7 separate regions of the Homo sapiens genome follow, and all the other regions are linked to region 4. Evidence: promoter capture Hi-C in human tissues and cell types (Jung and others, 2019). All regions are on one chromosome and are shown on one strand. Each heading gives the region's core, a stretch centred on a gene start or on the middle of the fragment in contact. The rest is flanking DNA. Distances are from core to core; before and after follow the strand shown. Region 1 holds the start of ITFG1-AS2 (ITFG1 antisense RNA 2). Region 2 overlaps ITFG1 (integrin alpha FG-GAP repeat containing 1). Region 3 overlaps ITFG1 (integrin alpha FG-GAP repeat containing 1). Region 4 holds the start of ABCC12 (ATP binding cassette subfamily C member 12). Region 5 overlaps ITFG1 (integrin alpha FG-GAP repeat containing 1). Region 6 overlaps ITFG1 (integrin alpha FG-GAP repeat containing 1). Region 7 overlaps ITFG1 (integrin alpha FG-GAP repeat containing 1).

Region 1 (3,620 bases), core at 1,006-3,505, 880 kb after region 4:
TATACCTCTACAGTTGGTGAAAAACAGATTATATATTGATCTCCTACAGCATGTCAAGCATGCAGTTGGATTCAGAACGTTAAATCTGTGTGGATTAACTCCAGCATGTACGTGATTTTTATCTTACTAGCTTGAGAAGCTATGCTTGTGTGATGCAACTCTCTCATATAAAATGTACTGTATTTTATATAGCTATATTTTATAAATACCTATTATTGTGTATTTACTTGATAGCATTATTATTTAGCCCCATAAGTGACATTTCACAAACAGTGCCCTGTATAATCCAAAAACAGCAGTTGAAGAAATATAATAACAAAGGAGAGGACTGGGATTCTCAAATCCAAAGAAAATATATTATTCCAGGTCCTTTCAGGAAGTAGACATTCAATGTCAGCTAAACAGAGTAGAATAACAGATTCATACATGTCAGGTACATGTGGAAATTTAGCAAAAGATTTATGAACATGAACCCAAGCAGAGGAAACTATTAAAAATAACAGACATGTGATATGTAAAATTCACCAGATAAAATCCCTGGTTGTGTTAGCCACACTTTCAAAATTCTATTGTTCATAAGTCTTAGAAATTCCTTCCCTCCCCTTCTTCCCATAGTGAACAGAGTTTGAATTATATTTCAATTCTTTACATACTACAGAGTTTGAAATAGAATTCTAAAGAGTGAAGGAACAATCATGGACTTTCTGAAAGGCTTTTTCATTATGGCTATGGTATTTAAGCAGACTTACTCAGATTTTGTTCCACAAAACATCTATTGGACTAATGGCCTTTCCCACTGTAGTTCATCTCTCTACGTCTTCAACAGCTTGTTAGCAGACGTAACAAGCTGTTACGTCTATATAAGGATATATAGAAGTGAGAGTTTATTAGTGGTATTTTCTACAAATTTTCATTATCATAGGTATTCTATTGTTTGGCAGTTTTAAAGCTACCATTATAATAAGAAGAGAGAATTTCATCTCATAGCATGTGAAGCTTAAATCTTCAATTGGGTCACTTGGGGTCACCTAAGGCCAACAGTAACCTGAAAAGGAAAAAAGTTTTCAGTTTTTTTTACTAGAAGGGCTAATTGTGTTACATCTGTTCTTTCTTTCAGCCCAAGTTTTAGTTAATTGTCTAAGTGTTCTGTTCTCTGCTTAGCAAAGGATTTAATAGCTGATTTTATATACATTCCTGGTTTAATCTTACTTTAATACACTTTCATTGATAGGATAAATGCACCTTCTTAAGGTGGGCAATTCTGTTAACTCAGCATGGTCAAACTTTTCTCAAGATGATAAGATTGAATCTTACATTTGGTTAGTTCTTTTTTTTTCTTTTTATGAGATGGAGTCCCTCTGTCCCCCAGGCTGGAGTGCAATGGCGTAATCTTGGCTGACCACAACCTCCACCTCCCAGGTTCAAGCGATTCTCCTGCCTCAGCCTCCCGAGTAGTTGGGATTACAGGCACCCACCACCACACCCAGCTAATTTTTGTATTTTTAGTAGAGATGGGGTTTCACCATGTTGGTCAAGCTAGTGTTGAACTCCTGACCTCAAGCAGTCCACCTACCTCGGTCTCCCAAAGTGCTGGGAATACAGGCGTGAGCCACCACGCCCAGCCGATTAATTCTTGTATCTCATAGTTATTAAAGTACATGGATTTCTTACCTTTTATGAGCTAATGAATATTTTGTAGTAACCCTGGAGGAGGAGTTTGCAGTGAGCCAAGATCACACCACTGCACTCCAGCCTGGGCAACAGAGTGAGACTCCATCTCTAAATAAATAAATAAATAAATAAATAAACAAACAAACTAATAGATTCTTTTGAATATAGGTAAATTAAAACATGACAAAATATTTTCTACTCACCTATTTGACAGAAACTTTTCAGCAGTCACAGTGTTATATTCCATTAGGTTTCCCTTTCAGTTGGCCTCCCTCTACAAAAGATGCTCGCTTCCTTTTTTCATTCAGGTAACATGTGCTGTCTCCCCCACTGAGTCACATATCCTAGACACTGACTGGGGATAAATGGATTGCATTTGCCCAGAGATAAAGTGAACTTTATTGTGAATATCAATTAATTGCCTTTGACTATTTCTTGTTGTCAGTAGCATATGTTGCAAAACACTTCAATAATATTTAGTATTTCTAAGTGAAAGTTTTATATCAGCTTAGCTAAGCATTCTGCACTTACCGATAGTAGGCAGCATGGGTTTCAGAGCATCATTTTTTTAATGTTTAATTTTTAGAGGATTCCTAATGGACTTATTTGTGTTTCTTCTTAATTTGTTTTTCTTCTCCATGTAGAACTGGCTTTCCTAAGGTTTATACAGTAAGACAGACGTATCCCCACATTGAAGCTCTTTCCATTTGAGTCTAGGCTGATAATGAAATTGGGGAATTAAGGAAGAGAGTTAAAGACAGTCTGGAAGAGGAGAACTCACTGAATATAGAAATGACTAAAATGGACATGAGCTCTAAGGACAGCCAAGGAGAAAAATCAGACTTTAAGTTAAATGATCCATAAGCTACCTCTCTTAATGAGAAGTAAGACAGTTGCTTACAGCACATTAACCACCTAGAATAACCCAGACCTCATCAAGTGGTAGTGTATTGAGTAACACCACCAATTTTATAGCCTTTGAAGATAAATTAAAACCAGCCTCAAAAAAATTGCATACTAGATATACAAATATTGGCATATTCAGAGAAGCAACATTTAATATGTACATTTTACACATTATGTCACTTAAACATTTACCATGGGTTTTTTAAATAGGTTGAAATGTTCTGCAGTTAACTTTTGTATTAACCACTTTGTTGAGATATAATTCACACACCATACAATTCACCCATTTATTCTATACAATTTAGTGGCTTTTAAAAGTGTATTCAGGCTGGGCGCAATGGCTCACGCCCGTAATCCCAGCACTTTGGGAGGCCGAGGCAGGCAGATCACTTGAAGTCAGGAGTTCGAGACCAGCCTGGCCAACATGGTGAAACCCCATCTCTACTAAAAATGCAAAAATTAGCTGGGCGTGGTGGCGCGTGCCTGTAATCCCAGCTACTCAGGAGGCTGAGGCAGGAGAATCACTTCTACCTGGGAGGCAGAGATTGCGGTGAACCGAGATCACACTACTGTACTCCAGCCTGGGCAACAGAGCTGGACTTCAATTAAAAAAAAATGTATTCATATTGTTGTGCATCCATCATCACAAGCAATTTTAGGACATTTTATTACCCTAAAAAGAAGCCCCATTCACCTTAGCTGTTACTCTCCAATTCCCCTACGACTTCGTCCACTGCCACCAGACCTAGGAAACCACTAATCTTCTTTCTGTCTCTATAGCTTTCTGTCTCTGTAGCTTTCTGTCTCTATAATTGGACCTGTTCTGAACATCTTGTATATGCAGTTATACAATATGTGTTACTTTATGACTGGTTTATTTGACTTGGTATAATGTTTTCAAGATTTTTCTATGTCGTAGTGTGTAGCAGTATTCCTTTCTTTCTGTTGTCAACAGACCATTATATGGTTATACTACATTTCATTATTCATCCTTCAGTTGATGGACATATGGGTTTTTTGCACTTTTTGGCTATTATGAATAC
Region 2 (3,559 bases), core at 700-3,199, 770 kb after region 4:
AATTTGGGAAGGTTTTAGCCATTATTTCTTCAAATTTTTCTTTGTCTTCTCTCTCTCTCACTTCTACTAGAGAACTTCCATTACGTATATCTTGGTGTACTTAATTGTGCCCCACATTTCTTTGAGATTCTTTTCATTTTTTCCTTATCCTTTTTTTCTCTCTGTTTTTCAGGCTGCTTAATCTGTCATGAAGTTTGCTAATTCTTCTGGCAGTTCAAAGCTAACGTTGAGCCCCTCAAGTGAATTTTTTATTTCAGTATATTTACTTTCAGTTCCATAATTTCCATTTGGTTTTTTATCATTTCTGTCTATGGATATTTTATATTTGATAAGGCACACTTCACTTCTTTAAGCATAATTTCCTTTTTTTTTTTTAACATATTTGTAGTGGCTGCTTTAAAGTTTTTGTCTGTGAAATTTACATCTGGTCCCTCTCACAGCACTGTCTGTTGCCAGGTTTTTGGTTTTCTGTTTTCTTGTATATGGATTATACTTTCCTGTTTCTTTATGGGTCTCATAATTTTTTATTGGACATTTAGGTAATTGTTATGGTCATTCCACAGAAAAAGTATGCACAGTCTTCCCTCCGAAATTTGGCTCAAAAGCCAAGAAGGTATGAGAAGGTTTATCAATCACATAAAGAGGCTTTGTGGGAACCGCAAGGCAGGCCTTCCAAACTGGTCTGAAAATGATTTGAGAGATCAAGGACAGGAGACTGCCTTGGAAGGTTATTTGTGTGCTGTTTGGAGGTGGGGCCTGGGTGAGGTTCCTATGCATGAGTAGGGCTTGAGGGGCATGAACCTCCCACCAGCACCAAAGGAGGCTGGCTTTTTTACCAGCTTGCCCAGATATAGGGCACAAGAGGAAAAGGGAGGGGTAAGATTTAAAAGCTGTCAACAGACAAATATTAAAAAATGGAGCCAGATTCTTTTCCACAATAATATACTGTAGCAACTTTGGATACTGCCCTCCACTCCCCAAAGCTTGTTATTGTTGTTTGCTTGCTTATTTGTTTAGTGACTGGCTAGACTATTTCAATAAAGATTATTTTCCCTGTAGTGTGAAGCCTTTGATGTTGCTCCTCAGAGGCTACAGCTTTGGAGACGTACCTTGTCATCCTGGTATGACAGTGGTTTTAGCAGGGCTCTCTTTGTCTCCTTCTGGATCACACTCAGCTGTTAGGCTTCAGTAATTGCCAGCTGATTGCTCTATTTTTGACAATACCTTGGGTCATAAATTGCTCCATGGTCTGATATAATTAAGTTTGGATTCCTTTGCAGGTTTGTTCTGTAGGTTGGTGTTGTAGGTTTGTCCAGACTTCAGGAAGGTTATCTGTAGATCTTCATTCCCTAGTTCTCTCTGTTAAGCCCTGGTCTGTGATTTAGTTTGATTCTTTCATGAGGCTGACTGCCTTCTCTCTATTGCTTTCCATCAAACCTCCATTTGTTTTGAATATACCCTTAGGCTTGAACTTCCCCACACTCTGTTTTAAATATTAGGGGACAGCTTTGTAGCTGCCTGTTACAGCCTGACGCTTCTCCTGGGCAGAATCCCTGAGCATGGCTCCAGAGGTGAGAGTGAGGACAGTGACACACTTTCCCCCTGAGAGGCATCCCTGCTTTAGGATCAGAACACTGCATTGGAGTGGTAGCTTCTGATCTTTGCTTCCCTTTCCGGCATTGAACCAAAGGCCTACAAAAGGGGTGGTGTGTGAGTCGCTAGGCCCCTGCCATTCTTAGTGTGCTGCACGAGAGATGGATCCTCCACCTTTGTGAGTAGGGGCTGGATTGAAGAAGGGGTGTCCCCAGCCTCTTGACCTCACACTCTTGGAATTTAGCCTCTACAGCATATAGCAGGAGGAGATGAGAAATGGTGGCCTGCCCCGCAAGAAGTTACCACAGTCCTTGACTAGGAGCTGGGTGGAGGGGGAGCCCTGTGTTTTTGGCTGCAGCTTCCTGAAGCAGAGTTTCCTTCACACTGAGCTAGGAGGAGGAGAGAAAGAGCAGGTAGTAGTTCAAAAGTTACAGGCTCTTGCTCTTCTTGTCTGATTTCAGTATATTTTCTTGAATAAATGTTTCTTCGTTTGTTATATGCTCTCAGAACAATTTCCAGAGACTGTAAATTTTTTTTTAATAATTTCCCCCAGTTATGCTTGTTTTACTGGAGAGCAGGTCTGTAGGGATCACACTGTCATTCCAGAAGGGAATTTTTACAATTGGTAGGCATTTGCTGACCTAAAACTCATCAGTCCTAATGCCGGATAACAGATGTTTTTTTGTTTAAGTCAATGGCCTTGAATTTTGCCCACTGTTTTGGCTGTGGCTTTTTTTAGGATGAAGGTTTTATCATGTATGCTCCAAAGGAATATTCTTCCATGTTATAGATTAGTCTGTAAGTTAAATATGATCAATTTACAAAACAGCATTAGAACTGTCCTGTCTAGCTTAACAGCCTTTCCTTGTTTTTAGTGCAGTGTTTTAAGTCTTCAGTTTTAAAAGCTCAAAGTTTTGGTTCTCTTGTAAGGCCCTTTGACATTAAAAAAGAAAGGTTGAAGTCTTCTCATTGAAGTGAGCACTCAGCATGACCTATAACTAGCATTCTGCTATTACAGCAGGCAGAGAAAACTGAGGAAAAAGAAGGTTCATTAGAAGTTCTTAGTCACTGTAAGGTTTACTCTTTGCTGCATTAGAATGATTGAAGATAGGCTTTCAGAGTTAACATTGTTTTTAAAATTATTTCATGTAGCTTTTGAAAGGAAGCCTTAATATTTTTAATATACATTTTATTTTCATGTTTAATCACTATTATACTTGTTTCTGCTTCAAGAGAAATTTTTTGTAGTTTCACATATTAAGTTTAGGGACTACTTTAATCAAATGCCATATGCTGGGGAAATTATTTACTTCTCAGAATTACCAACTTCAGATTGTGTACCACTGGAATGCATATAAGAGCAATTTTTATAATTGTTAAGTGTATTTAGTGTGTATTTTACATTAATAAACTTTGTTTAATTTTTTTGAACTAATTTTATTAGAGGCCATGAGTGTGCCTCATTATTTTAATAAATTACTTTAACCTGAAGTTTCTTAATAATCTGATTATTTGATTTTAACTTATTTCAAACATACAGACCTTTATAAACACAATGTCACGTGTTGGTAATGTTAGCATTTCACTAATGTGAATATAATAACTTCTTAAAACGAATTGCACAGTTTCTGACCAGTGCAAATGTCACTTCCTCAGTGAAGCCCTCCTCAAATTCGTCCAACAAGAGAGTACCTCTGCCAGCTCTGTTCCAATAGTATGTATTCATAATTCTAGCAGAGCCATTACCACATAGTATTTGTCAATTTCCACATCTGCCTCCTCAAGGAAGGAGTAGAGAGAAGTAGTAGAGACAGTAACCTCACCACATTGGCCAGGCTGGTCTCGAACTCCTGACCTCAGGTGATCTCCCCACCTTGACCTCCCAAAGTGCTGGGATTACAGGTGTGAGCCACCATGCCCCGCCATCATTTGTGTTTATCTCTCCAATACCTAGTTGACTGCCACG
Region 3 (3,506 bases), core at 834-3,333, 750 kb after region 4:
AGTGTGTGTGTATGTGTCTTGTTATGTATTTGCATTTAAATCTGTGATCCAGTTGGATTTTTTTTTTGGTATTTCGGTTATATCTTTAGATATTCATCTCTCTGTTTTGATGACCCTGAGGATTCCTTATTTAGCAGCACAGATCTAATTTTTCCATAGTTTTTCTCTCGAGAGACTCAAAAACTTCATTGCAGAAGTCAAAAGCTGAATTTTGGCTCTTTTTGCAGTCTTGTTATGATAACCCTAATTTTCCCCTAGGCCACAAGCCCTTTGAAAGGATCCAGGAGGTCAAAATAATTTTTCATAAAACCCATAAAAAATTGTTTGCTTTTTTTGCTCTTTTTCTTTCACAAGTATATATTAGCATTTTCGAGAGACTTCATAACATTTAATGACTTCATTACTCTGACACGTTACGTATATGTGTTTGTATTCATATGTTTTAAAAATGTCTTTTAATTTTTAATATGGTAAAAATCAACAGGTATAGATCACATAAACAAAACCTCTCTGAGGTCCTCAATAATTTCTAAACGTATAAAGAGGTCCTAAAACTAAAAGGCTTGCAAACTCCTGCCCTACGCAGTTACCTTTGGCTGACTGGGATCACTGTCCCAAATAATGAGAAAGAATAATCTAATATCTTCAATATAGACATATATCCAGTCAAGATAAGATCTCAGCTGTGACAAGTCACATAAATTAGAACTGTCTCTCTGAGCACCACGCCTGTTTTTGCTTTCTTTTTTTTTGGAAAATAGTTATCATGGTTCTGACTATGGCCCTGAGATAAAGGAATTAGAGTCTGGTCTATTGATGAGATATTAAATATATAGTCCTCAACCCCAGGGACTCTTTACCTTTTTCTTTATTAGATCATTTCTCTACTTCTTGTAAAACTGGAAAGATATCACTTTACATGGCCTTTAGCCTCACCTTTATTGGTCAAGCCAAGCATATGTTTTACTTTTAGAACTTGTAAGCTCACACTCAGAATGCCTGCTTAGGAACTTCTTTGTGCAGAGTGGATGGGACCTGTTGGACATTTAAAAGGGCAAGTGTTATGTCATCGGCCAAGGGAAACATAACCTGAAAATTTCTTTAATATCACACATACTTTTCATTCATTCATTCATCAAATTCAAAATTATTTACTGAGACTTTACTCTTCCAAGCATTGTGCTAGGAACCAAAGACGAAAAAACAAGATCACCAGACTCAAATAATACTAAAGCATAAACCTCAAGGAAGTGGTTATAGCCTGGCATCACTCTATTCATTCTGTATTGAAAATTTTAAACTTGATTTTTAAAGACACTGATTTGCGTTTTAAAATGCAGTGGAATTTCAGCTCCAGATGTACAGTAATACCCTGAGTGTCAGTTGTTTGTAGTATATTTAGTGGAGCTATACAGGAGTCTTATTTTTCTTTCTTTGCACACTCTTGGTGATCTCATGGCTTTAATAAGCACCATCTACTGGGTCATAACCCTGCATACTAATAACATATGTATGTATATGTCCAAGCTAGACGTCCCACTATGCTCCAAAGCCACATAGCAACTGCCTACTAGCCATGTCCACTTTTATGTCCATGTCTGATAGACAGTTCAGACTATTTTTCCCAAAATGAATCCCTGATCTTTCCTCCTAAACCACCTCAACCCTTAAGCTTCCCGTCTCACTAAATGGCAGTCCCGTCCTTCCAATTCTGTCAAAATGTTGAGTTGGCTGGGCGCAGTGGCTCACTTCTGTAATCCCAACACGTTCGGAGGCCAAGGCAGGCGGATCACATGAGACCAGGAGTTCTAGACCAGCCTGGCCAACATGGCAAAACCCTATTTCTACTAAAAATACAAAAAGAAAAATTAGCCAGGCATGTCTGTAATCCCAGTTACTAGGGAGCTGAGGCACGAGAATCACTTGAACCCAGGAGGCAGAGGTTGCAGTGAGCCGAGATCACACCACTGCACTCCAGCCTGAGTGACAGAGGAAGACTCTGTCTCAAAACATAAAAAACATTGGAGTCATCCTTGCTGCCTCTTTCTGTCACACCCAATATCAAGTCTGCAAGGAAATCCTGCTCATTCTTCCTTTGAAATATTTCCACAACTTGTTCACTTCTTACCACCTCCACTGTAACCTCCTGGTTCAAGTCGCCATCATTTCTCACCTGGATTGTTTCAGTTACTGGTTTCCTTGCTTCCACCCTTGTCTCCCATTATCCGTTATAAATGTAAATGACTCTTCCCAAAATCTTCCAGTGGCTTCTTCATTACATTTGGATAAATAGCCAAAGTCCTTAAAACAGCCTACTAGGCCACACTTACTCGGCCCACCATTATCTCCTCGACCTTCCATTCTATTTTCCCGCTTGATGCCTTGAGCTAGCCTGCCAGCCTCCTTATTGTTTCTTAAATACAAGACAAGGTCCAACCTTAGGACTTGGGTTGAATAACTATTTTCTCTGCCTAGAATATTATTCCTGCGGATATCCAGATCACCTCCCTCAAGTTATTTCTCAAAATATACTTTACCTTCTTCACATCTTTATTTAAATGTTATGTTCCTTCTCAGTGAGGGTCGCTATATTCAAAATCACAACTTTCAAACACTCTCCTTTGCCCTTACCCTTCTTTAGTTTTTCTTCAAAGCCCTTTCACCTGCTAAAATACTATATACTTAATGTTTTTATTGCTTCTTCCCATACTAGAATGCAAACTCCATGAGGGCATAGATTGTTTCTTCGGTTCACTGTCATTTCTCCAGTGCCCAGAACAGTGCCTGCCACCAAATAGGGACTTGACAGATACCTGTTGAATAGCCACATTTTGGGGGAGAAAAGAGAACCTTAAGGACAGCTAGCATATTTTTAAGTACTCAAACTGTCCCTAATTGGTAGGCCTTTTTCAGCTAAAGATTTAACAACTAACAAAAGGAGCTCTTGATGAAATTGGCGTTAGTTTGCAGAAGTTCAAACATACACTATTGAATGAGCTTCCTTTTAAAAACCCCAGAAGATTTTCAGAAATACATACAATGCTTAGATACTTTGGCTGTGGGAATTTTATCTAAGCAGACATAGAAAATAACAGACACATTTTTCAAGAATTTTGTTTCTTTTCTAAAAATACAAATTAAATCACTCCAACCTTAAGATATCATAAGGTTATCATATAAATCGCTTCTAAATGCATCATTTGAACTGATTCAAATTCTGCTCTAAAAAATAGTTGATCTTTATCAGCAAAGATGAAGAGACCTGTTTACTAAAAACTGCAGTTGTTTCTGATATTATCATTATGTTCTCTGATAAGGAAGGGGCACCAGAGAGACAAAGTAATGGAAAATGTTTTATTTCAAGTATGCCGTAACTTCTGTATGTGTACACACATATATTCCTGGACTAAACACTTCTGAGAGAAACTTCACAGAAATATTCTGTTGTAGCTATATTACATCTTGCTTATTTCATAATTATAAGTATCTATTATTAGAACCAGGAC
Region 4 (3,472 bases), core at 539-3,038:
CCTAGGCTTGTCTTGAATGCCTGGGCTCAAGTGATCCACCTGCCTTGGCCCCCCAGTACTGGGATTATAGGCCTGAGCCTCTGCACACAGCCAAAATAGAATTTTTAAAGGAAGAGGAGAAATATGAAAAGGATTTCTATTTTTTTTCTTTTTGTATTCCAGTGGATTATCTCGCCCCCCCGCGAGCTGTGTGTACACCCAGGATGGGCCTCAGTTCCCTGACTATGGGTGAGTCCACGCTCTGCCTGGAACAGGAGCTTGGCTGGTCTTTTCCTAAGGACTTCCTTGGATACAGACCGGACAGTCCCTCTCCATCATTCTCCACTCTGTTTCCGGCTAGGCCCACCAATCTTCTTGCGTAGCGCCCAATACTGTTTGTCTGGGTGGAAATCCATCTCCGCCCAGCCTTTCATGGAGATAGAGGAAAACTGATCGGCATTCTTCCTCCATAAACTTGACAGCACTTGACTCCGTTTGGAAGATTGTGGAAGCGAGTCTTTGCTGTGTTTATGAGACCCCCGGGGTTGTTGCGAAGATCAAGTGATAAAGAGGATGAAGAATTTTGCGATACACAAAGGGCTCCAGAAATGTCGAGTGATATTATTAGCAGTGATTTGCATTCATGAAGGGAAGAATGGACGGAAATTAAATGGAACACTTTGGACACGTGTAAGGAAACTGCTGTCGGTCTAGCTCACTCCCCAGGCCGGGGAGCCTTCCTGGGAGGACCCATTTTCCTACACAGCTGCCCACAGCCCCTCTCCATTTCCACCTCCCTCTAGGTAGGAAGGGAACTCAGGTTGGGCAAAGGCGGTGAATTCGCATCTCCAGGAAGCGGCGGGGCCGGAAGGCAGCCAGCAGGGGGCGGCATTGCGCAGGACAGGAGAAGGTAGCGGCCAAGTTCCTCATGAAATCCACGTGCGTGAGGCTGGGAAGGTCCTCTAAGATGTTTAAATAACCCTTAAAGCGGAATCAAGATTTGTTTTTTTCTGCAGTTAGAGAGTTTGCTCCCTCCCAGCCGGCTCGCTGAGCGCTGTGGAACCCTTCGGCTGGGCTCCCCTGAAATCGGGCGCTTGTTCTGGGACAGGCGCAGAAGGGACCCCGGGAATCACGCTTGCGCTCGGGATGTGCAGGGTTCCAAGGGTGACACAGGGGAACTTTTCTATGCAAGGGCTAGCTGCTAGTGCAGGTCTCAGACTTACCTTCCGTTCATTTCAAGACAAATTGAGCTCAAATTACCCTTTTCTTTTTCGTTAAATGAATGGGGAATGAATGAATGAGATTTTCTGTTTTGAAGATGAGGCTCATCTCCCCTCCCCTCGCCTCCCCTGCCCTCCCCTACCCCTGCCCTCCCCTACCCCTGCCCTCCCCTCCCCTCCCTTCCCTTCCCCTGATCCCAAAGTTGATTCCCGGTTGCAGGAACACAGCGTAGAAAATTCGATGCATTCTCTCAGGAAGGAGCCTGGAGTGGGACTCAGGGGACCTGGGTGCTGGTCTCAGCCCCACGCCAGTCGTGGACAGGCTTCTGTTCCTTGGGCTTCTCGTCTGTAGAATGACGGTTGGAGAGAGGATTTTTCTCCTTCTCTTCTACAAGGATGTGCTGTGACAGCCAGGGAAGGGCTGGCCATGCACAGTGCTTTCATGCATGGGCTCTGACTGTCACCAAAGAGCCAGACCCGGCCACAGGCCATCCTGGAAGAGGGGAGAGCCCTTTAATGTGGGCAGAGGGAATGTTGGCCCGCCAGAGTTCCCTCTCAGGTGTGGTGGGAGTGGCAGTTGAATGGGGCAGTTGGAGAGGAGGACTTCAGGCGGGTGGGACAAGAGAAACTGAATCTGAGGTCCTTGGGGAGAAGCAGGCCCTGGAGTCCTGGGCAGCAGATGCCAGGCTCTGAGCCCCATGACTGCTGACCCTCCTCCCCTCCCTCTCATCCTCAGCCCAGGTAAAGCTTCATTTCCAGCCCAGGTAAAGCTTCTCCCTGTAACAATTAGTGGCCACCATTTAGTCCCAAGGGCCTTTGTTTCTCATCCTCAGGACAGGCTGTGTGTGTGTGTGGTGGGGGGTTTGGGGGAGGTGACACCACTGAATGGGGCTGCCCAAGTGGGAGGCAGCAGGGACGAGGCTCCCAGAAGAAAGGCAGCCCCTCTTCCACTTTTGGAGCCCCCGCTATCATAAAAGAAAAGGCAGAAATGCCAAGACGCGATTTCAAAATCTCTGAAATACAAAAGCCTACATTGAATATTTTAAGTCTTTTCCCACACATGCACAAACACAAACACATATACAGGGTAGTGTTCACAATTTAATTATGGGATTTATACCTCCCCCCCAAAAAAAAAGACCTGGAAAGCTTTACTGCAGTTCTCATATGAGGTTTTCATCTTTCTTTCTTTTTTTTTTTTTTTTAACTTTTAAATATATTATTTTCCTGGGAGGGTAGATTTGAATTGCTCTGAATCCAGGCTCTGCATCCTTCTTTGATCGTGTCGGAATGTGTCTGTAACTGGATGGATGACCTCTTTTGGAGATGCCATCACTGGCCACTGTTTTAGGCCTTCTGGGAGATGAGGGTACTTGAGCAAAAGCACCCCCACTTCCCTTCCCACACCCCCAGCTTGGTGCTGTCCCCTGCATGCACTTCCCTCTGCCACCTCTCTGCCTCTCCCTGCCTCCCAACCCCAGTCCCTCATCACTCACAGGGCTTTCTGATCTGGCTGCCACAGGTGCCTGGGACCTGGGGACAGACAGGAGAGGTGCGGTGCAGGCAGGGCCTGGGAGAGCTCCCCAGTGTCTCCTCTGTGCTGGAGGCCAGTCAGGCCCTGGAGGAAGGGGCTGTGGGAGTTGGGGGAGACCATCAGATATTGATAACTTTGGTGGCTTTAAATTAACAATGGATTTATTAAGAAAGAAGTAGGGCTGTAGTCTCATACCTGGGAAAAATTTTATGACTAAAGGTGTGCCTGCTTTTGGTTGATGGAGGAACTCCCATCATGAGCACCAAGGAAGACCCAGAGTCCAGTTCTCAAACATAAAGTTGTTAATTTTCTGGGCTAGACAGGGGCAGAAATGAAATATAACAGAGCAAAGTGGGCAGGTGTGGAAAATGGTTCTTCTTGAGATGACTTCTAGACATCTTTTGTTCTCTCTTGGGGCAGAGACAAGGATAGAGAAAAAGGCCTCAGGAAACACTATAAGGAAGACAGCAGTGCCAATGCAATAATAAATGTTACATGACCCCAAATCTCAGAGTCACAGAGACAGTAAGGAGTGGTGGGGATTGTGGCAAACTAAAGCATGTATACCCTGCCCAGGAGGGGCTGCCGTGCTCAACGTAAGTGGATTGTCACCACATGAACATACAGAGCTCTTGATATTTGACGAAAGCCAGAAGCCAGTCTTATTTTTTTTTTAATGTGGTATCTCCTCATTTTTAAATGTTTTCCACAAATTGGAAAAAAATGTTTAAACTATGCA
Region 5 (3,692 bases), core at 20-2,519, 930 kb after region 4:
TCCATTCTTCCGGGTTTCTTTATGAACTTCTCTTCTGCCTATCTTTCAAATGTTGGTGATTTTCAGGTTCCATCCTAGGTTCTCTTCTCACTATATATACAATAGTCCCCCCTTATCCACAAAGACGCATTCCAAGATCCCCAGTGGATGCCTGCAACCTCGGATAGTACTGAACCCTATGCACCTTCTTTTTCCTACACGTACGTACCTATGATAAAGCTTAGTTCAGAAATTAGGCACAGTAAGAGATTAATAACAACAATAACTGATAATAAAATAGAACAGTTATAACAATATACTGTAATAAAAGTTATGTGAATATTTATCTCTCAAAATACATTATGGTATTGTACAATGAGTAACTGAAACCACAGGACATGAAACCGCACATGAGCGGCGACTACTCTAAACTCTTTAAGTGATCTCAACCACTTTCCTGAACATCAGACCTTTGTATCTAAGTCCCTTACAAGGAAGGACCCTGAAATGTAATGTTCCCCACCCCCCAAAACCCAGTCCTCTTCCCACGTTCCCTGGCTCACTTTTTCCTTTCCCTTGTCTCCCAAATCTACTAGATTATCATTCTTTCCCCACAACTGTCCCTTCTCTCTGTCCTGTTACTTTATTTCAGGACTTTTTTTTTTTTTTGCCTGACTGCAGCAGTTATCTAAGCTATCCTTCAAAAACATACAACAGTGATCTTTCTAAAACACAAACCTTCAGTGGCTACCCTTTACCCTTGAGAGATGATCTAAATCTAGCTTCCTGAGATAGAGCCCTGGTTTACCCCTTCAGCCTTATCTCTTGCAGTTTTTCCTCAGGCCCTCCCACAACTCTATAATCAGATCTCTGAACCACTATGTTCTGTCACCTCTGTCACCTCCTGTTCCTGCACCTGCCTCTGTAACAAAGCCTTCTCTTCTTCACCTTCTCCTAGTTTGCTCTGTGTGACCTTCAGGTTGGCACTCAGACAATATTTCCTCCGAGAAAGCATTCCCTGGCTTCCGTTTGACATAGAGTTGGATGCACCTTCTGTTGTTTCTTAGCACCCTATGCCTAGTCCTACTACTGTCACTTATTATAGTTTAAAGTGGGTGAGTATCTGTGTTAAGTCCCTTCAGGATTGTGTCTTATTGATTATTCAGTCTTTACTCCCCAGCACAGTGCCTGACACATAGTTACATGACAAATATTTGAGGTATGAATAAATGAGCTTTCTCTAGAATTTGGTTTGCTTTTTAATGGGCCGTCATTGATAAGTTTACCATCACATCTCTCACCCCAATAGCATATTCACTGTTAAGTATGAAAACTTGAAAAATAAATTACAAGCTATTTACAAGAGAAATGCATTCTGGAAAAGCTCTGATGCAAAGGAAAAACATTCCCTATTAATGCTCACAGAAATACCTCCTAATGAAACACAATTGTTTCCATTGTTACAACAATTAATTTTTAATATATGCAACAGAACAAGGTGACTTAACTTTTTAATCTTTTCAATCAGAAGGGGTCTCAGGCTTTTACCTATTCTATTTAGGAACATTCTGACAAAGTACAGGACAAGTACATTTATCTTCGGGTCAGATGCCATGGCTTACACCTGTAATCCCAGCACTTTGGGAGGCTGAGGCAGAAGACTGCCTGAGCCCAGGAGTTCGAGACTTGTCTGACTAGCCTGGGCAACATAGTGAGATCCTGTCTCTACAGAATAAAAATGTTTTACATTAGCTGCATGTGGTGGCACACGCCTGTAATCCCGGGTACTCAGGAGGCTGAGGTGGGAGGATCGCCTGAGCACAAGTCAAGGCCGTAGTGAGCTGTGATCGCGCCACTGGGCTCCAGCCTGGGCAACAGGGTGAGACCTTGTCTAAAAAACAAACAAACAAAAAAAAAACCTTCTTATCTTTATTTTGGTGAAGTGAATGATCTTACTTGGTACTGTTTTACCATGCTTTAAAATATAGCAGGCATTACTTCAACCACTATTTATTGATTATAACTGATTTATTTGACATTCCTTAAAATATTACTCACTCCTTAATTCTGTTTGCCTTTCTTTTATCACACCTGACAGTGGTGATATCATGCTTCGTGTACCAAAGATAGAAAAACGATGATATGGATATTTTCTGCATTTAATATACCTTTTTACAGTCCTTTACTTACCTTAGTCAGAGGGAAAATATCTTGCAGTTTTCATTGGAAAATAACCAAAATTAAAGGAAATAATGTTTTATTTAATGTCTTAAAGAGCAAGAAACAATAAAAAATGTCAATATTAAACTAAATTGGGCATTACAGCTAACGTTAATGAAGATAAAGACAAATGCCAGTGAGTGTTCACTTAAAAAATAAACAGGATTTTTAAAAATTACCCTTGAGAAAAGTTAAGTCCACTCTATAAGTCAGCTATTTTTCTAATATTTTAGAATCATGAATTTCTATCATATAATAGCTATTGATTATACCTAATACAGTATCTTTTATATGTTTTTCCATTTTTATTTCATCATCCAGAGCCAATGATTTGAAGTATTATTTGCGCTCCACTATAGGAGCCCAAGACCTTGAAACAAACCCTAGGTAATCAAATAATTGACACTAATATAGAAACCACCATTTGGCTTACTAAAAAAGTCTCTAAAGAAAACAGAGGTATTCCAACCCCAATTTTATAAGACAATAGGCACACAAGAGATCAGGTTAGTTAGAAAGAATCTATATGATACAACACCTAAACTGCATTACATCAGTGTGACACATCCTAGAATGAGAAAAAGGGTGCCAATGATAGTCTTTTTTTACTGATAGTATGAAAAATTGAACCATCACTAATATGTCTAAATTTAACTTCCCTGAATTCTTTCAAACAAGCATCAGATGTGACATTTAAAAGGACACCCTAATATAACCCAAGTATGTAAAAGGTGTGAAAGATACAGCAATACTCCTTGTACCTTTATTGTATAGAAGAAACACAAAGTAAAAATTATTCCAGATCTCTTGGCATTTTCTATGAGCATAACTATTTTTAGTATATTTTGTAGTAAACATTCATATGGAGGTAAGTGAAGAAAAAAATGAAGTTTAATGCTATGACGTATGGGATAAGAAACCAAAAGACCTATAGGCCCAGGTATCAGTTGTATCATTTCAGTTGAGAAAGGAAATTGGGAATTGAATTGTTCATTATACAGATGGTGTAGAAGAGCAATTCTCAAACTTCTTGGTCTATGGACCCCAAACTTTTCTTTACATTAGATATATCTACTGACATTACTTTGTTTGAAATTAAAACTGAAATAATTTTAAATGATATTGTTTTTAAAAGATAACCCATTATATTAACATAACCAATTTTATTTTTTTAAAAACTATATTTTTCATATTAAAATATTAGGGAAAGAGAGGCATTGCTTTATGTTATTACAAATCTCTTTAATGCTTAGTGTAATAGAAGATAGCATATTCCCTTATCTCCTTTTACATTCAGATTTTTGTGGTATGTTGCCTTGGTTGAAATAGATGAAAAAAATTCAGCCTCACATAACTATGTAATAGAAAAGGGAGTGTTTTAATAGAAACCATCATTCTCAGCGAACTGTCGCAAGGAGAAAAAACCAAACACCGCATGTTGTCACTCGTAGGTGGGAATTGAACAATGAGAGCATTTGGACACAGGAACGGGA
Region 6 (3,716 bases), core at 348-2,847, 710 kb after region 4:
GTGACTTATACTGCTTTATTTTATGTTCTGATTGGTAGTATTATATTTAAGTGAAATTGTTTGTTTCTAAGTAAATGGTTTTAAGATGTTATCAAAATTTACTCACCTTTTAGTTAAATCTTAATAATTTTTAGATGTATATTTGTAATTCAGAAAGATCATCTTCTTTTGAGAAAAGTATAGTGTTACAGTTTCTGTGCAAAAAAAATTGATAGTAACATTTCCTTTTATTGGAATGTATTAAAACTTTGTTTCCTTGTTTGGGGAGAAACCATTTTGCTTTATTTCATTACTGTTAATACCTGTGTATGTATTAAAACTAGTATAGGCTAGGGGCAGTGACTCATGCCAGTAATCCCAACACTTTGGGAGGATGAGGCAAGAGGATCACCTGAGCCCAGGAGTTCAAGACCAGCCTGGGTAACACAGGGAGACCCCATCTCTACATACAAAGAAAAAGAAAAAATTAATCGAGCATGATGGTGCACTCCTCTGGTCCCAGCTGCTTGGGAGGCTAAGGTGAGAAGATTGTTGATCCAGGAAGGTCCAGGCTGCAGTGAGCCGTGATTGCACCACTGCACTGTAGCCTGGGCAACAGAGTGAGACGCTATCTCAAAAAAAAAAAAAGAAAAAACCAGTATAGTTGAAAAATCCATGTATATAGCAGGCTTTGAGTAAGATTAGTATCTATTACCATTTCAATTTAGGGTGAAATGAATCAGAATCATAATTTCTGAAAATATAGATTAAGTCCTCTTTCATTAGATTCTAGTTGCATTTTTTCAAAGTGTATACACTGTTGAAAATGCCTTACAAATACTTGATTTTTATCAGTCTGGAGGCCTAAGCTCTGAGTTCTAGCTCCTGAGTGAGTTTCACAGTAGTCCTGACTGGAGGTGTGCGTTCAACTGTGGGACGCGTGCTTCTTTTCAGACTGCCTGTTCTTCCACTGTATTTGCCTGTATTAGTAGTCAGTGCTGTCTCTTAGGTGTAGTCTTACTGTTGCACCCCCTAGGAAGGTAGAAACATTGGGACAAAGTATAATAAAACATGACTGAAAGAAATCTTCATGTTTTCTCTTATGTAAGAAATCTTCGTATTTTCTCTTATGTACCTGAGACATTATTGCTGAGAGGTCCTTAAGATTTATCCAGAACTGCACCTTTGAGTTCTCATTGAAGCCCAGAGTGAGTGATTCATGAGGAATTTACCAGGGTGACTTTGTTCTCTAGTGATGCTTTTCCCAGTCTTCTGTGTATCTTGCTGGGGAGGCACACCACGGAATTGTACAGCTTATCTGTCCCTTTGGAGGCTCAGAGTTGGATAGGGAAATAAGAGAACAAAGAGTATCTCAAGCAAGCTTGTTGTTGTTTCATTAAATGTTTATCAAGTAAGTCTGGGGTTGGCACTTAACATCAGTTGCCTCTTTTTTTTTTCTTTCTTACAACAGATAGCTTGTGTGGCTAACAGTGACTTAAGAGTCTAATTCAAAGATTAAGTGACTACCACAGGCTCACAAATACGTAAATAAATGCTAAATCTGGGAATTGAATCTGGATCTTCCAAGTTCTAAAGGCTGTGCTTTTGCCTTCGTTCTTGTACCATCACAGGGGTACAAGGGGTACAAGTCACAGGGGGCCTTTGGTGGTGCTCCTTCATATGGCCTCCACCTCTCTCTCCATGGCTAGCTTGGACTTCATTGTAGCATAATGGGTGCTTTTCAAAAGCATTCCATGAAACATAGGCAGAAACTGCATGTCTCTTAAGATCCAATCCTGGAAGTTAAACAAGTGTCATTTCTTTTATATTCTCTTGGTCAAAATAGGTCATGGGACTAGCTAAGATTAAGTGGAGTTAGTAGATGATAGACTCTACCTCCTGATATAGGCACGGCAAAATTGAATGCAAAAGAGCATGTGAGATGGGAAATAATGTGACCATCTTTGAAAACACAATGTGCTAGCCTGTGTTTGTTTACTTTATCATAAGTAAAGACTTGCAAAGAAATATGGAAATACAGATCATTTTAAGCATGTCAACTTCTAGAATCTCAGGCTTCATAGGTGTTCTTAGCTAAAATTCATGTGCCTGAGAGTGTACCTGTTTTCACTATAACTTTCTCCTTCACATGAGAATGCTGTCTTCCTTACATTTCCTAAATCTTACTAATGGTGATTTGCTGGGATGTGAAAACCCATAGATATCAAACGTGGGGGAAATCTTTTTTTTTTTTTTTTTTTTTTTTTTCTGAGACGGAGTCTCGCTCTCCCAAAGTGCTGGGATTACAGGAAGAGCCACCGCGCCCGGCCTGGGGAATCTCTTATAATTAACTAAGATATCTCAAACTAATAGAACTTCCAGTTTTTCTTTTTTTTTTTTTTTTAATGTACATTTCTCTTAACATGAAGCTTGCATACAAAAGCAGACATCATGGTCCATGTTGATGTATTCTGAATTCGGATGCACTGGAGTGGGGTTGTGGTAGCATGACAGTTTTTGTTTTAATGACTTTGCCATTTCATTACGTGAGTATTGTCAAAAAATCCATTATTGTTGAGAGAGACCCTTGGGAGAGCAAAGAAAAGAGAGCATCTGTAAGAAAAACCAATTTCCAAAAAGCAGATCTTATAACTGTTCTTAGCACTGTATCCCAGGACAGATCATTAATTGGAAAGAAGGTAACTTTCATGCCAAAGTGATTTTGGAAGGTAAAATGATTGTTGCAGATGTGACTGGAATATTCTCTAGGACCATCAAATTCGTAGATAAAGCTTTTGCATAATTTGTTGTATATTTGGTATCTTTTTCTATAATGTAGCATATTTTATAAAATCATATCAAGAAAATTCCATTTAAAGTGAAGCATCTTATTTTATCTTATGAAATTTTATTTTTACTATTTTCTGTATCCTGTTAATGTAATAATACTATCACCTAATATATAAATTTACATGTTGGCTTCTGAGCCAAATAATTTTTTACAGTATATACCTTTTTCTTTTATTAAATTCATAGGAAAAGTTTGTCATGTTTAATAAAATGAGAAAGGCATAGTGTTATTCTTTTTTCAATACACTAAGTACTCCAAAAGCCAGACCCCAGAGTTGACTATGCACATAAATTTACTGAAGAGCTATTACATCTTTTATCATATTTCTTGTAACATAAATTATTTTAGCTGCATTATATTGCATTGCTGTAAGTTAATTAATGAGAAATAGCATGTTGCTTTACAATCTTATTTTTATAACCTATTTTATAAAAGTAGATAAATCAGTTTTATCTGATTTACATTATTGTACTCTTGACTGCTTTTAACAATGTGTCCTACAATATACATTGAGTCATTTCTCAGCAGTTTTTATAATATTCCTTGAAACACATATTAGCACATTTATTTGAATTGAAAATAAAAAACAAGGTCACACTCATTCTCGCAGAAAATGACTTTCATTTGGAAACAGCTTTTATAGGAAGGACTGGCTTTGTGAATTACGTTATATGGCAGATATTTTCTGTAAATTGAATGAACTAGATCAGCAGTTCTAAATTTCTTTTTGTTTTTTCCTTACATTTTATTTTATTTATTTTATTATTATTATACTTTAAGTTTTAGGGTACATGTGCACAACGTGCAGATTTGTCACATATGTATACATGTGCCATGTTGGTGTGCTGCACCCATTAACTCGTCATTTAGATTAGGTATATCTCCT
Region 7 (3,646 bases), core at 1,033-3,532, 810 kb after region 4:
CCCAGTAATGGGACGGCTGGGTCAAATGGTATTTCTAGTTCTAGATCCCTGAGGAATCGCCACACTGACTCCCACAATGGTTGAACTAGTTTACGGTCCCACCAACAGTATAAAAGTGTTCCTCTTTCTCCACATCCTCTCCAGCACCTGTTGTTTCCTGACTTTTTAATGATCGCCATTCTAACTGGTATAGATGGTATCTCAATGTGGTTTTGATTTGCATTTCTCTGATGGCCAGTGATGATGAGCATTTTTTCATGTGTTTTTTGGCTGCATAAATGTCTTCTTTTGAGAAGTGTCTGTTCATATCCTTCGCCCACTTTTTGATGGGGTTGTTTGTTTTTTCCTTGTAAATTTGTTTGAGTTCATTGTAGATTTGGGATATTACCCCTTTGTCAGATGAGTAGATTGCAAAACTTTTCTCCCATTCTGTAGGTTGCCTGTTCACTCTGATGGTGGTTTCTTTTGCTGTGCAGAAGCTCTTTAGTTTAATTACATCCCATTTGTCAATTTTGGCTTTTGTTGCCATTGCTTTTGGTATTTGGGACATGAAGTCCTTCCCCATGCCAATGTCCCGAATGGTATTGTCTAGGTTTTTTCTAGGGTTTTTATGATTTTAGGTCTAACATTTAAGTCTTTAGTCCATCTTGAATTAATTTTTGTATAAGGTGTAAGGAAGGGATCCAGTTTCAGCTTTCTACATATGGCTAGCCAGTTTTCCCAGCATCATTTGTTAAATACGGAATCCTTTCCCCATTTCTTTTTTGTCAGGTTTATCAAATATCAGATAGTTGTAGATGTGTGGTATTATTTCTGAGGGGTCTGTTCTGTTCCATTGGTCTCTATCTCTGTTTGGTACCAGTACATGGCTGTTGTGGTTACTGTAGCCTTGTAGTATAGTTTGAAGTCAGGTAGCGTGATGCCTCCACCTTTCTTCTTTTGGCTTAGGATTGACTTGGCAATGCGGGCTCTTTTTTGGTTCCGTATGAACTTTAAAGTAGCTTTTTCCAATTCTCTGAAGAAAGTCACTGGTAGCTTGATGCGGATGGCACTGAATCTATAAATTGCCCGGGGCAGAATGGCAATGTTCACGATATTGATTCTTCCTATCCATGAGCATGGAATGTTCTTCCATTTGTTTGTGTCCTCTTTTATTTCATTGAGCAGTGGTTTGTAGTTCTCCTTGAAGAGGTCCTTCACATCCCTTGTAAGTTGGATTCCTAGGTATTTTATTCTCTTTGAAGCCATTGTGAATGGGAGTTCACTCATGATTTGACTCTCTGTTTGTCTGTTTTTGGTGTATAAGAATGCTTGTGATTTTTGCACATTGATTTTCTATCCTGAGACTTTGCTGAAGTTGCTTATCAGCTTAAGGAGATTTTAGGCTGAGACGATGGGGTTTTCTAGATGTACAATCATGTCATCTGCAAACAGGGACAATTCGACTTCCTCTTTTCCTAATTGAATACCCTTTATTTCCTTCTCCTGCCTAATTGCCCTGGCCAGAACTTCCAACACTATGTTGAATATTAGTGGTGAGAGAGGGCATCCCTGTCTTGTGCCAGTTTTCAAAGGGAATGCTTCCAGTTTTTGTCCATTCAGTATGATATTGGCTGTGGTTTTGTCATAAATAGCTCTTATTATTTTGAGATACATCCCATCAATACCTAGTTTATTGAGAGTTTTTAGCATGAAGCGCTGTTGAATTTTGTCAAAGGCCTTTTCTGCATCTATTGAAATGACGTGGTTTTGTCTTTGGTTCTGTTTATATGCTGGGTTATGTTTATTGATTTGCATATGTTGAACCAGCCTTCCATCCCAGGGATGAAGCCCACTTGATCATGGTGGATAAGCTTTTTGATGTACTGCTGGATTCGGTTTGTCAGTATTTTATTGAGGATTTTTGCATCGATGCTCATCAGGGATATTGGTCTAAAATTATCTTTTTTTGTTGTGGCTCTGCCCGGCTTTGGTGTCAGGATGATGCTGGCCTCATAAAATGAGTTAGGGAGGATTCCCTCTTTTTCTATTGATTGGAATAGTTTCAGAAGGAATGGTACCAGCTCCTCCTTGTACCTCAGGTAGAATTCGGCTGTGAATCCATCTGGTCCTGGACTGTTTTTGGTTGGTAAGCTATTAATTATTGCCTCAATTTCAGAGCCTGTTATTGGTCTATTCAGAGAATCAACTTCTTCCTGGTTTAGTCTTGGGAGGACGTATGTGTCAAGGAATTTATCCATTTCTACTAGAGTTTCTAGTTTATTTGTGTAGAGGTGTTTATAGTATTCTCTGATGGTAGTTTGTATTTCTGTGGGATCGGTGGTGATATCCCCTTTATCATTTTTTATTGCGTCTATTTGATTCTTCTCTCTTTTCTTCTTTATTAGTCTTGCTAGTGGTCTATCAATTTTGTTGATCTTTTCAAAAAACTAGCTCCTGGATTCATTGATTGTTTTGAAGGGTTTTTTTGTCTCTATCTTCTTCAGTTCTGGTCTGATCTTAGTTATTTCTTGCCTTCTGCTAGCTTTTGAATGTGTTTGCTTTGCTTCTCTAGTTCTTTTAATTGTGATATTAGGGTGTCAATTTTAGATCTTTCCTTCTTTCTCTTGTGGGCATTTAGTGCTATAAATTTCCCTCTACACACTGCTTTGAATGTGTCCCAGAGATTCTGGTATGTTGTGTCTTTGTTCTCATTGGTTTCAAAGAACATCTTTATTTCTGCCTTCATTTCGTTATTTACCTACCTAGTAGTCATTCAGGAGCAGGTTGTTCAGTTTCCATGTAGTTGACCAGTTTTGAGTGAGTTTCTTAATCCTGAGTTCTAGTTTGATTGCACTGTGGTCTGAGAGACAGTTTGTTATAATTTCTGTTCTTCTACATTTGCTGAGGAGTGCTTTACTTCCAACTATGTGGTCAGTTTTGGAATAGGTGTGGTGTGGTGCTGAGAAGAATGTATATTCTGTTGATTTGGGGTAGAGAGTTCTGTAGATGTCTGTTAGGTCTGCTTGGTCCAGAGCTGAATTCAATTCCTGGATATCCTTGTTAACTTTCTCTCTCATTGATCTGTTTAACATTGACAGTTGGGTGTTAAAGTCTCCCATTATTATTGTGTGGGAGTCTAAGTCTCTGTGTAGGTCTCTAAGGACTTGCTGTATGAATCTGGGTGCTCCTGTATTGGGTGCATATATATTTAGGATAGTTAGCTCTTCTTGTTGAAGTGATCCCTTTACCATTATGTAATGGTGTTCTTTGTCTCTTTTGATCTTTGTTGGTTTAAAGTCTGTTTTATCAGAGACTAGGATTGCAACCCCTGCCTTTTTTTGTTTTCCATTTGCTTGGTAGATCTTCCTCCATCCCTTTATTTTGAGCCTATGTGTGTCTCTGCACATGAGATGGGTTTCCTGAATACAGCACACTGATGGGTCTGACTCTTTATCCAATTTGCCAGTCCGTGCCTTTTAATTGGAGCATTTAGCCCATTTACATGTAATGTTAATATTGTTATGTGTGAATTTGATCATGTCATTATGATGTTAGCTGGTAACTTTGCTCATTAGTTGATGCAGTTTCTTCCTAGCATCAGTGGTCTTTACAATTTGGCATGTTTTTGCAGTGGCTGGTACCGGTTGTTCCTTTCCATGTTTAG

What was found. The method cuts DNA at HindIII sites, captures the fragments that hold promoters and counts their contacts. A contact is called where the count stands out against the background at its distance.
Region 1: a contact is called between a fragment that was not itself captured here and the fragment with the promoter of ABCC12 in region 4, in 1 of the 25 tissues and cell types used here (dorsolateral prefrontal cortex).
Region 2: a contact is called between a fragment that was not itself captured here and the fragment with the promoter of ABCC12 in region 4, in 2 of the 25 tissues and cell types used here (dorsolateral prefrontal cortex and lymphoblastoid cells).
Region 3: a contact is called between a fragment that was not itself captured here and the fragment with the promoter of ABCC12 in region 4, in 4 of the 25 tissues and cell types used here (H1 embryonic stem cells, dorsolateral prefrontal cortex, lymphoblastoid cells and 1 more).
Region 5: a contact is called between a fragment that was not itself captured here and the fragment with the promoter of ABCC12 in region 4, in 3 of the 25 tissues and cell types used here (dorsolateral prefrontal cortex, mesendoderm cells and spleen).
Region 6: a fragment that was not itself captured here is called in contact with the fragment with the promoter of ABCC12 in region 4 in 3 of the 25 tissues and cell types used here (aorta, dorsolateral prefrontal cortex and mesenchymal stem cells).
Region 7: a contact is called between a fragment that was not itself captured here and the fragment with the promoter of ABCC12 in region 4, in 2 of the 25 tissues and cell types used here (dorsolateral prefrontal cortex and mesenchymal stem cells).

Annotation. Positions count from the first base shown.
Region 1 is chr16:47,271,979-47,275,598 of GRCh38, reverse strand. All of the region lies in intron 10 of ITFG1 (integrin alpha FG-GAP repeat containing 1), which reads left to right. It overlaps ITFG1-AS2 (ITFG1 antisense RNA 2), which reads right to left and starts at 2,627. Exons shown (of 3, transcript XR_007065056.1): 1 at 1-2,627. The HindIII fragment of the contact is 3,754 bases long and covers 379-3,620 here.
Region 2 is chr16:47,384,754-47,388,312 of GRCh38, reverse strand. All of the region lies in intron 6 of ITFG1 (integrin alpha FG-GAP repeat containing 1), which reads left to right. Among named protein-coding and RNA genes, the nearest start is that of ITFG1, 75 kb to the left of the region's middle. RefSeq lists an enhancer at 1,235-1,735. The HindIII fragment of the contact is 4,169 bases long and covers 1-3,559 here.
Region 3 is chr16:47,405,870-47,409,375 of GRCh38, reverse strand. The region is part of intron 6 of ITFG1 (integrin alpha FG-GAP repeat containing 1); the gene reads left to right. Among named protein-coding and RNA genes, the nearest start is that of ITFG1, 53 kb to the left of the region's middle. The HindIII fragment of the contact is 8,012 bases long and covers 1-3,506 here.
Region 4 is chr16:48,154,309-48,157,780 of GRCh38, reverse strand. It overlaps ABCC12 (ATP binding cassette subfamily C member 12), which reads left to right and starts at 1,788. Exons shown (of 31, transcript NM_001393797.1): 1 at 1,788-1,940. The HindIII fragment of the contact is 12,201 bases long and covers 1-2,159 here.
Region 5 is chr16:47,226,559-47,230,250 of GRCh38, reverse strand. All of the region lies in intron 13 of ITFG1 (integrin alpha FG-GAP repeat containing 1), which reads left to right. Among named protein-coding and RNA genes, the nearest start is that of ITFG1-AS2, 45 kb to the left of the region's middle. The HindIII fragment of the contact is 6,477 bases long and covers 1-3,692 here.
Region 6 is chr16:47,443,779-47,447,494 of GRCh38, reverse strand. The region is part of intron 5 of ITFG1 (integrin alpha FG-GAP repeat containing 1); the gene reads left to right. Among named protein-coding and RNA genes, the nearest start is that of ITFG1, 15 kb to the left of the region's middle. The HindIII fragment of the contact is 5,602 bases long and covers 1-3,716 here.
Region 7 is chr16:47,349,063-47,352,708 of GRCh38, reverse strand. All of the region lies in intron 8 of ITFG1 (integrin alpha FG-GAP repeat containing 1), which reads left to right. Among named protein-coding and RNA genes, the nearest start is that of ITFG1-AS2, 78 kb to the right of the region's middle. The HindIII fragment of the contact is 3,472 bases long and covers 547-3,646 here.